Regions from separate parts of the Homo sapiens genome. Here region 1 is linked to region 2. The links are contacts of gene promoters, found by promoter capture Hi-C in blood cells and fetal thymus (Javierre and others, 2016). All regions are on one chromosome and are shown on one strand. Each heading gives the region's core, a stretch centred on a gene start or on the middle of the fragment in contact. The rest is flanking DNA. Distances are from core to core; before and after follow the strand shown. Region 1 overlaps TMEM14A (transmembrane protein 14A). Region 2 holds the start of LINCMD1 (long intergenic non-protein coding RNA, muscle differentiation 1).

The links. Contacts are between HindIII fragments. The CHiCAGO score rates a contact against its expected background, and 5 or more counts as called.
Region 1: a fragment that was not itself captured here is called in contact with the fragment with the promoter of LINCMD1 in region 2 in 6 of 17 cell types (naive CD8 T cells, total CD4 T cells, total CD8 T cells and 3 more); the score reaches 6.6 in naive CD8 T cells.

What each region holds. Positions count from the first base shown.
Region 1 is chr6:52,681,832-52,687,539 of GRCh38, reverse strand. It overlaps TMEM14A (transmembrane protein 14A), which reads right to left. Exons shown (of 5, transcript NM_014051.4): 3 at 5,626-5,708; 4 at 3,375-3,462; 5 at 952-1,530. The coding sequence ends at 1,491. Among named protein-coding and RNA genes, the nearest start is that of TMEM14A, 14 kb to the right of the region's middle. The HindIII fragment of the contact is 2,362 bases long and covers 1,184-3,545 here.
Region 2 is chr6:52,146,608-52,152,528 of GRCh38, reverse strand. LINCMD1 (long intergenic non-protein coding RNA, muscle differentiation 1) reads left to right here and starts at 1,506. Exons shown (of 3, transcript NR_131248.1): 1 at 1,506-1,647; 2 at 5,062-5,161; 3 at 5,592-5,715. It overlaps MIR133B (microRNA 133b), which reads right to left and starts at 3,606; the gene lies at 3,488-3,606. The HindIII fragment of the contact is 4,773 bases long and covers 1,095-5,867 here.

The DNA of each region.
Region 1 (5,708 bases), core at 1,115-3,614, 530 kb before region 2:
GTCCAGGGAACAGCATAGCTTCAAACCAGTTTCTTAAACTTTGAATCACTAGAGTATTCTGCAGACACAGCATGTATTTCTAGGATCAATTTCACAGTTAGTTTCTACTTCAGTATCGTAATCAGTTTTGACTATAAGCTGCTGTCAGTCTGAATCTGAAGGTTCTCCTCAGTCATCTCTGACAGCTAGCAAGTGAGCAGAGCACCTCAATGATGACGGCTTTTTCCAGCCTTGCCTGTGGTAACAACCTCTTTGCCACCATTAGGATTTATGGGATTTTCTTTCTTCTTCTTTAAATTGGGATTTTTTTAAGTACATCAAATAATTTTATCTAGATTTCCTATTCGGTTCAACTGGTACAGCTTTTTTCTTCCCTTAATTGAATTACTTATCACTGAAAGTTTAACAACCTCCTTGAAAGTCAGTTGGGAAAGGTAACCAATCTAACAGAACCATATGAACTCTGCCGTTATCAGTTGAGGACCCTACGCTTTCACTTAAAGAAAGGGTTTGAAGTATGACACCACTGCACATAACCAACAGGATAGGAACTGTAGATTTTTAGAGCTCTAAAGGGTTGATCATTTAGTTCAATTCCTCCTTAAGAATGAGAAACTGAGTCAGAGGAAAAGGAAATGACCTTCCAAAGAGCATCAAGTGGGTGGAAGAATTGGGCTGGGATTCAGGTCTCCCGATGTTCAATTTGGGCCCTAAAAGTGCCTTGGACATTAAAAGTTATAACTATGCCTAAAAATAAAGTGGTAATTTGAAACAAAATCAGTTTGTTTCAGAATCGTTACTCTTTCAGAGAGAAAAAATATCTACGCCTCAGGAAGTAGAATGTTGGCTTAAATAAACCCTCCTTCTCAACCCTTTTCGTTAATAATTGAATATTTAAATGTCAAAGATGATTTGAGTATTCAGAGGAAAAACTGACATGAAAGAAACAGGTTTGAACCAAAATGTCTTTTATTTGAATACTGAATACATTCAGTTAGGACATAACAGTGTGCTAAGAATAAAATTTTTTAAAGAAAAAAATAGCACTGGCAGCAATACAATTAAAATGGAAAAAGCATAATTTCTAATAATTTCAAATATAACACAAATGACAAATAGATACATTATCATTCTGTGAACTCCACTTAAGACTTCCTTTATGTGACAAGTTGTAGTTTAAGCTTACTTGAGACATGAGTATTTGGAATTTTCAAAAAATACCAAATATATAAAAAATAGACACAACAAATGGAAGAGTATATCATGATTCATTAGACACTTTTAATGAAAATAGTGCTTGACAATTAGAAAACAGTTAAAATTTTTGCTTTAGAAAAAAACTACCTCAAACTAATGTTCATATTAGAGGTGACAGTGCTATTTGTGTTTCTAGCATTCCATATTGAAGTTTATCTTTTAAATACAAAAAAAATATGCTCTGCCCATTACAGCAGGATGACATGAACTTAGTTTTCTGTTCCTCCAGATGCTCAGAGCAGCAACAAGACAAGTCTCAGGATCATCATGAGGCTGGATTTAAAATAAAACAAAGACAAAGGGAGAGTCACTTTTATCTGGCATAAGACAGAAAGGGCCATGCACTCGCCTACCCAGTAGTGTTACTAATCCTTGGCTTGGGGGCTCTCCCAGCTCAACCCCTTGGAGGATTAAAACATCCCAGACATAACTGAATTAGCCACTTTAAAATGTTCGCTAAATGAATAAGGAAAAATCAGAACCTGTTGTTCTGAAAACCTTGGATGAGGGTTTATAAGAGAAAGGTTTGGGAAGAAACAAACTTTCAGAAGCTAGTAAAATAAAGCAACTTGAAAAAATAATCGAGGACCAACTTGGGGCAGTTACTAATTCAATCTCAGCTACTTTCTATTAACTGAGGCCTTCTTCCGGATCCATAAACCCTACTTCATTTTTTCTTCCTTTTTTTTTTCTTTTTTCTGATGGAGTCTCACTCTGTCACCCAGGCTGGAGTATAGTGACGCAGTCTCGGCTCACTGCAACCTCCACCTCCTGAGCTCAAGCAATTCTCCTGCCTCAGCCTCCCAAGTAGCTGGGATTACAGGTGCCCGCCACCACACTTGGCTAATTTTTGTAGAGATGGGGTTTTGCCATGTTGGCTAGGCTGGTCTTGAACTCCTGACCTCAAGTGATCCACCCGCCAAAGCCTTCCAAAGTGCTGGGATTACAGGCATGAGCCACCGCACCCAGCCCATAAACCCTACTTCTGATTCTTCCCACCACCAAGTATCACTTTTAGAACAGGGCTATAACTGGAAAGCTGTCTTTTGTAATCACACTCCTCCTCCCCTCCCTGAAACATAATACATAGTCACACTAGAAAATTCTACACAAAAGTAGAAAGAGGAACATTACAATTATTCATCACACTATCACCCACAGAAAAACACTAACAGCTTGAAATATTTCCTTCCTGTTTTTTTATACACAAACTTTTTTTAATCACACTATATGTGGTTGTTTTCATCCTGTTTTTATACCTTATTATGTCACTAAGATTTTCCAATGCCACCAAATCATTTTTGAAAACATAAAAATGTAATGCTCATTCAATATTCCATTAAATGGACAAAACATTTTTTCAAACATCTCCTTACTGGTGAACTGTTAGGTTGTTCCTAATTTTTCAGTCTATTGTGTTTTCACTAGAAATAAAGTTGCAATGAACATCAGTCTTTGTGCATATCTCACTGCTTTGGAATAAATTCCAAAAAGTGAAAATGTCTATCAAAGGAAATAAACATGTTTATGGCTTTCAACATATAAAGCCAGCTTTCTGGAGAAATTTTTAAAATGTTATCTCTAAATTTTTATTTGGTAATATGCTTAATCTCATGGATAGAATTACTGGATCAAATTAAGAGAAACTTGAGGCCCTCTGTTTATCTTTTAAAAAATATTAAAACTTCTCTCTTAAAAACTCTTAAAAATATTAAATTTCTGTCCCTTAAAAACTTGAAATAACTGTATCACACTGTCACTCTGTCAAACTCTCTAAAAGGGACTGAGTATTAGATTTAAATGAACACATTTAGTGTTGCAGATGGGTGAATCTTGAGGAAAAATGAGGCTGAGTTTAGTTAGCTCTTTCTTCTGAAAAAGGCAAGTATGCCTATGTGACCAGATACTACAGCAACACTATGCGTATCCAATAAGAATGTTCATGGGTACATCAATATCAAAGACCCACTGAATCCATGCTATCTTAAGGTTTTTACTGTCATGCTTATTATAACAAAAAGGACTTTGATCTTTCAAATTAAAATTGATGTTTCCCAAAAATTCAGCACTTCAAAACAACAGCAGAGGAAAGTATTGATCAAAATAGTTTTACTTACCTTAAACCTGCAACCAAACCAGCAGGCATTATTTTCTTGGACCTCTTAAATCTCACACCCATTATGGTAGCCAGGAAGAAAGCTGTAACTGAAAACCAAACTAATTCATGAACCAGAGTTTCAAACATGTTATCAATGCTTGTGGGAAAACAGCGGGTACCATTTAAAGCTTTCTAACATTACAACTATTATGGATAGGTACTGAGTTGCCATTGTCTTGAAAAGATAAAGTGCTCTATTAAAACACTTCATGGCCGGGCCAGTGGCTTACGCCTATAATCCCAGCACTTTGGGAGGCAGAGATGGGTGGATCACCTGATGTTGGGAGTTTGAGGCCAGTCTGACCAACATGGAGAAACCTCGTCTCTACTAAAAATACAAAAAAAATTAGCAGGGCATGGTGGCACATGCCTGTAATCCCAGCTACTCGGGAGGCTGAGGCAGGAGAATTGCTTGAACCGGGGAGGCAGAGGTTGTGGTGAACTGAGATCACGCCACTGCACTCCAGACTGAGCAACAAGAGCGAACTCTGTCTCAAAAAAACAACAAAAGAACAAACAAAGAAACACTTCATCATCATCTACCTCGCCGAAAAGGTTTCTGGGTAAACAAACATGTTAAAATCCATTCCTGAAATATCTTCAAAAGAGAAAGACCTTTTCTTTTTCTTTTTTTTTTTTTTGTTGTTGTTGTTGTTGTTGTTGTTGAGACAGAGTCTTGCTCTGTCACCCAGGCTGGAGTACAGTGGCGTGATCTCAGCTCACTGCAACCTCCACCTCCCGGGTTCAAGCAATTCTCCTGCCTCAGCCTCCCGAGTAGCTGAGATTACAGCCATGTACAACCACATCCAGCTAATTTTTGTACTTTTAGTAGAGACAGGGTCTTGCTATGTTGGCCAGGCTGGTCTTGAACTCCTGGCCTCAAGTGATCCACCGGCCTCAGCCTCCAAAAGTGCTGAGATTACAGGCATGAGCCACCATGCCTAGCTAAGAAAGTCTTTTTCTAACCTAAATTTCTATTCAAAGAACACGCCTTGAAGGCTAGCACTGAGCTTTATTCAACTTCCCTCAGAAACACTAAGTAGCACACTTGGACCCACAGGAGACACTCATTAATGTTCAGTTAACTGAATATAAAGAAAATAGTTAATGTATCTTTTACAAGTAAGATCTGATTAATAAAAAAAAAATACTAAAAAGAAGGCTGATTGGTTTTGTTTTGTAGCATCCCATTTTGGAGAATTTGATGCCTGGAGACTAAATAATAGTCTAAGCAATAGTATTTTATTCAGAAGCATCATGTCAGCCTTTTTGGAGCTGTATCTATGAAGGGAGAGGTAGTTTTATGTAAGAGATTAGGACATCAATGCCACAATTTAAAAACAGCTTTCAAAGAAAAACTGTTTATTGATATAAAAAATAAAATGACTGACAATAAATACTTGTGAACTATTTAAATGCATATCAATAAAAATCCTAATATCACTACATCTGGCTGATACATCTAACACAACCTCATTACTAAAAATATCCCTAGCCCCTTATAAAAATAACTAAAAAAAAAAAAAAACCCCAAATCTCTCACTCTCCTTCAAATATAGAACAATTTTGTCTTCATTTATATTTTTTTCCATACACGACCAAGGCACTTTGAATAATAAATCAACTAGAGAAAATGTCCTTGGTATGGTTTTCTAAATCTTCACTGTGTATCTCTTTCAAGTGAGATGAAAGTCAAGTGTCCTGGTGACTTTAAACACACAGGTTTCCATTTTTTCTGTGGATATTCTCCCATTAAACTTAACAAGGGAAGTAGCTAAAAAAGCGTCAGCCTTGCTTTTTTAGGTTAAGTCTTAAGGCAGTGCAGAATCTAAAAGATGTTTGTGAATTAAATGAAATAATGCAAGGCTGTCTCTTTTTTAGTTATTTCCACAGCAATGTAAAAACTATGCTAAATATGCATTTAGGAGAGTTAGCAGAAAATCTGAAAATAATTCCTTGCTTTTCCTAATTCAATTTTTCTAGTAACGAGTTTTTATAGAAATATTCTTCTGAGTTGGAAGGCCTGGTAGCAGTACCATCATTTTTTATCAGGTCTTTCTAGAAAGGAATAAGTGTTGTATTCAGCCTCAACACATGCATATGGCCATTTGCCATTTGACTAAATATGTTCTAGTATATCTAGCATAGGGTATCAAAAAGATCACCTCCAATGTTTGAGTCTCTGTAACCAGGAAAAATGCCTTACTTACACAGTGACACTTTTACATCTCGTTTGTCATTGGAGACACGGTAAGCTCCATAGCCGGCCAAACATCCAACAAAAAGACCAGCA
Region 2 (5,921 bases), core at 257-2,756:
AATACATTTGCTCCCCTCCTGGTTTAAGGAAAATCAAACAGAAATGTGAATGGAAGTTGAATTCTCCAGGAGTGAATAAGAGGGGACAGTACGATATTTTGACTTTGGAGGCAGGCTATGACTAGAACTCCTTCCATCCTGTGGCCCTCAAAGATGTGTTCTGCAAAGACCCTTGAGGGCAAGGGGATAGGTAGAAAGTTGGATGACAATGTTCACTCATGTTCTCCAACCCTTGCCAGAAGTGTGCTAGCTTGCTCCCCTTCCCTCTCCTCCCCTCCTCTCCTTTTCTTTTTCTTTATTCCTTTCTCTCTCCTTCCTTCCTTTCCTTTACCTTCTTTCTCTCCCTCCCTCCCTCTCTCCCTTCTTAACTTCCTTCCTTCCTTCCCTCCCTCTCTCACTCCTTCCCTCCCTCTCTACCTCCCTCCCTCTTCTTTCCTTCTTTTTTTTTCTTTTGTTTTTGAGACAGGGTCTCACTCTGTCACCCAGGCTGGAGTGCAGTGGTGCCATCGCAGCTCACTGCAGCCTCAATCAAACTCCTGGGCTCAAGCGATCCTCCCACCTCAGCGTCCCCATCCCTGTGCCCAGCTAATTTTTGGTATTTTTTGTAGAGATGGAGTTTTGCTCAGGCTGGTCTTGAACTCCTGAGCTCAAGAGATCCGCCAGCGTTGGCCTCCCAAAGTGCTGGGATTTATAGACAAGAACCCTCATGCCTGGCCTGGCTGGCTTCTTTCTAACAGAGAGAAGACATTATTTAGTCTTAGCCTTATATGTCTTGTCCAGTTTTATCAGGCATTTTAGCCATAATATCCCAAATATGAAAGTGACCCTTTTTTAACACTCCTTTTACCTATACCTGGCATTGTTATCTAATCTTTACCTACATGACCTCTGCCCTTCCAGATGGAAAAGATCCCTCCTGTTAAGGACAGCTGGTATTTGGCCACATCATGTTTGTTTTCTGTTCTGCCAGGTGACTTCCGGGTGACAGCTCTGCGACTGCGCTTCAAGATCACCCTGCTTCTACTCCCAGAGGCATACCCCTAGTTCGCAGGGAAGTTCCATTTCATCACAGACCTGGGAAGCAGAGAGAAGCTTGTTGCCATCCTTCCCCCACACCTTACTACTGCTTTGAACCAGTGTGCTGCATTGAAAGAGATAAGTAGAAATAGTTGAACCAAAAATTACATGATCCCATAGTTTGTGCTTAAAATAAACAAAGAAGCTGATCTTTCAGTGAACATGTTTTTATTGAACACCAACTTAATTTCAGGAACATTTCAGGTACATTGTCAGAAATAAAGACTCTTAAGAATGTATTATTATGTACCCAATACTGGTTTCAGGCCTTTACATGTATTCTCATGAAACTCTATGAAGTAGATATTATTATCAATATTCCTACTTTACAGATGAGGAAACCCAGGCCTGGAGAGGTCAAGCAACTTGCTCAAGTGGCACAGCTGGAGAGTGGGGAGCTGGGACTTGAGCCCAGGTAGTGTGTCCCCAGCACCTTCAACTAAACTCCATTCTGTGCTGCCCTTTGGAACACCCACTCAATGGCCTTCACACTCCATGTCCTACTTGGGAGGACATGTGATCTCAACAGCACTCACAAATGAAGGCTTTCCAGACAGGATATTGAAGATGGTAAGATCAGTCTCATGTATAAAGCATTTTTTAAAAGTAAAGCATATTATATGCTAGTCATATGTACTAGGGTGAATGCATGTATGCTACATGCTAGTAGAATTAATAGTTGGAATATAAAAATACCCTATAGGCTGGGCACGGTGGCTCACATTTGTAATCCCAGCACTTTGGGAGGCCAAGGCGGGCGGATCACTTGAGGTCAGGAGTTCAAGACCAGCCTGGCCAACATGGTGAAACCCTGTCTCTACTAAAAATATAAAACTTAGTCGGGTGGTAGTGGTGCGTGCCTGTAATCTCAGCTGCTTGGGAGGCTGAGGCAGGAGAATCGCTTGAGCCTGGGAGGCGGAGGTTGCAGTGAGCTGAAATCGTGCCACTGCACTCCTATCTGGGCAACAGAGTGAGACCCTGTCTCAAAAAATAAACAAAAACAAAAACAAAACAACAACAACAAAAAACAAAACCCTACAGTGAGCAATGAGCCTTTATGTATTTTTTGAGTTCTTCTCCTATTTTTTTTTTAATTTGGCTCTTTCCTTCTACATACAAGTGCCTGTGGACACAGCATTGTCCTTGTGCTGTTGCCATTTACAGCAGTAAAACAACAGCTACTATTTCTTAAGGGCTTATATTTGGCTCTTTATTAACACTGTCTGTTTTAAGCCTTACGGTAACTGAGGTTGGTATCATTGTCCCCATTTTACAGATGAGTAAACTAAGGCTTGTGCAATGTTAATTGAGCTGCGGAGAGGATATATCACAGCTAATAAATTAGAGGGGCAGCATTCAACCCCAGGTCTTCCTGAATGCAAAGATTTGTGCTAGTAAGCTCTGTGTTCTCCTCTGAGGTCACTGTGGTGGGCTCTAGGCACTTATGCTACCCCATTTGTGTCAGAATACAGCATGTGAACACACATGTCTATAGAATTTTAAACCCAAATATTTACTTATTACTGTCTAAGTTCCAGACACACACCATAAAAGATACAAATCTTAAAAGATAAACTGGAAGGACAGGTCAGAATTCTCCCTTAGTAAAAGGTAGCGATTATGAGAACTTAGCTCATTACAGCCTCCATCTCCTGGACTTAAGTGATCTTCCTGCCTCAGCCTCCCAAGTAGCTAGGACTATAGGTGTGCACTACCGCATTCAGCTAATTAAAACAAAAAAAATTTTTTTTTGGTAGAAACAGCATCTTGCTATGTTGACCAGGCTGATCTGGAACTCCTGGCCTCAAGCAATCCCCTGTCTTAGCCACCCCAAATGCTGAGATTTTAGGCATAAGCCACTGTGCCTGGTGTGACAGGTACTATTATCCCTATTCTACAGATCAGGGAACTGAGAAATGATTGCTTAGTGAATAGATATCTTGGGCTGAATAGATCAATAGAGACTTGATGATACATAATGTGCTAGGCATATTTGGTGGGATAGGTAAGAATTATGCCTTGGAACTAGCCATGCTATAACTTGCAATTCAATTGGATCACACCATATATACATGTCTAATTTCTTTCCTTAGACTGTTAGCCCCTAGTGAGCAGGAGCCCTGTCTTCTATGTCTCATGCTCTTCCCCTGGCTGGCTTAGGGTTGGCACAAACTCCATCCTCAAACTCTTTCTTGACTGTGTGTCTGTCAAAAGCATGTAAGTGGCTGCAGCTGTGAGTGCAAAGGCACAGAACAGTGTGTGTTGAGCATTAAAATCTTGCTCACTTTTGACTCCAGGACTCCTCTTCTCTTCCTTCCTGGGAGCATAAGAATATGGTGAAAAAACCAGAATTGTTTTCTCAAGGAAAGTTTTAGTAGGTAATTTCAGTTGCAGTTGAATCTCTTCTGTTTCTCCAAGGACTGGGCATTGCCAGCCCTGCTGTAGCTGGTTGAAGGGGACCAAACCTCTCAGGAAGACGGACTTGGTTCCGTTTGACCAGCCAGAGCAGGGGGCATCTTTCTTCTGAGGTGACTGCAGCCTCTAGTGTGCAGGTATCTTGGTGTGTCTCAAGCATCATTTGTCTAAGCCTGTAATGCAAAAAGAAGCAGCATTAGCATCTGTCAAATGCCAGGAGCTTGCCTTGTCCAGAATGTCCTCTTACATGATTTGTACATACATCTCATACAATTTGTACATACAAATCATACATAATTTGTATTTCATGTTGCATGACTTCAATTTATTTTTTCTTTAATCTTTAATCTTTTTTCAAATAGAAACATCATGAAGATCAAATATGCTATAGAATTATAGAATATGAAAAATGACAGTATGCCATAATGCTTCCTCTTCCCATTTTCCGAAAGAAATGTAACATTTTGGCATATATTCTTTGAATGCTTAACATTTTAATTTCTTTAAATTATGTTTTTAATTCAAGTATGATATATTTATAAAAGAATATTTATAATATATAAGTGATGGTACATAATGGTAAAACCAATACCCATGAACAACGATCTACTTTTTTTTGTTGTTACTTTTTTGAGATGGAGTCTCACTCTGTCACCCAGGCTGGAGTGCAGTGGCGCTATCTCAGCTCACTGCAACCTCTGCCTCCTGTTTCAAGTGATTCTCCTGCCTCAAACTCCTGAGTAGCTGGAATTACAGACACCTGCCACCATGTCCCGCTATTTTTGTATTTTGAGTAGAAATGGGGTTTTGCCATGTTGGCCAGGCTGGTCTCAAACCCCTGACCTCAGGTGATCCACCCATCTCAGCCTCTCAAAGTGCTGGGATTTTAGCCGTGAGCCATCACGCCTGGCCCAACGATCTACCTTTTAAAAAGAACTATTTTTTACTGTTTTATACTATTGCTTTCTTTGTACTGAATGCTTTTTCCAATTTATTTCTTTATGTTTCCCCCCGGAGGTAACAATCACACTGAATTTATTTTTTCTTATGATTTTGATATTTTTCTTTATAGTTTTTACCATTTATGCATATATTTCTAAACAATATATATGCATATTTTAGTATATAATGGCATCATATCATAGGTATTGTTTTGTGACTTGATATTTCATTTAAAATGATATTTGCAAGATTCATCCATATTGATGTGGTAGCAGCAGTTTATTAATTTTCATTGCTTTATGGTTTTCTACTGTGTGAATATACTATAATTTATTTATTCTCCCAGCCATAGACATTGAGGTTGTTTGGTTTAACAAGGGGATAGCATTGACTAAACTGTTTCTCAAAGGAGGTGGAAAAATCTTTGATTCTTGCAGATTTTAAAGGAGAACTCTGGATTTGTATGTTGGCCTTGTAAAAGAATGGCAACACTTACCAGCCCGAAACATCTGGAAGTAGGACCCAGAAATTAGTGCTATAACCTGCCCTTTGGGTGATTCCGATGCAGCTCAAGTTTGAGAACCACTGAACTAATAGGAGTACCCACTGGTTTCTCTCTGTTTCTAGGGAGGTGTGAGCTGTGGGAGAGAGCTGACTAAGAAGAAGAAACTCCCCAGAAAGGTGGCCTGCCAGTCTTCACGATGTATGGGAGCAGGTGGGAAAAGAGGTAGGCAGAAAGGATAGTTTGAATGATGCTAGAAAATTGTCCTTCTCCCTGGGGGCTAGGCATTGCAGCCCTTTTATTTTCTCTTCCTGATGAAGACAAGTAAAACTAAGTGGAATGCATGTGGCCTTGGAGTCACACTTATCTGGGTTCAAATCCTACCAATGCTTTCCTGGCTCTTTTGCTTCTAGGAAGTTACATAACATCTTTTAACCTGAGTTTCTACATCTGCACAGCAGGAGAAGGTTGTATCTACTCTGCCTGCTTGTTGCGAGGCTTAATGACAAGGAAGGAAAGGTGCACTGTGTCCCTAGTGGGCACCATGGACAGTGTCAGGGGTGTGGGAAAGTCCTAGAGACAATCCTGACTGCTTTGGAGGCCAAGAAGTTCACTCTCAACTCCAGCCTGTCCTTTACATGTTTCCCTTCCTCAGCTGCAAGTGTTTGCACTTCATCATTGAAATTGTTGAAACTGCTGATCAGGAAACACAGAATGAGTTTAACCAGCGATGCCAACTTCTGCAAGATGGACTCCAGCTTGGGAGCTCTGTATGGAATAAATAAGATATCCCAGACATCAAAGCACTCAATAAGGCACTGTAGAAATGGCAACAAGGTAAAAGCCCACAATGATGGTGGTGGTGAGAAAGCAGGGCACCACAGAACATGGCTTGGTTCTAGAGTGGTCTGTGCAGGGTTACGTTGAAGCTTCTGTCTTGGCTTGTCCTCTCCTCCTTGGTGTGCATTCTCCTGGCCCTGTAGTC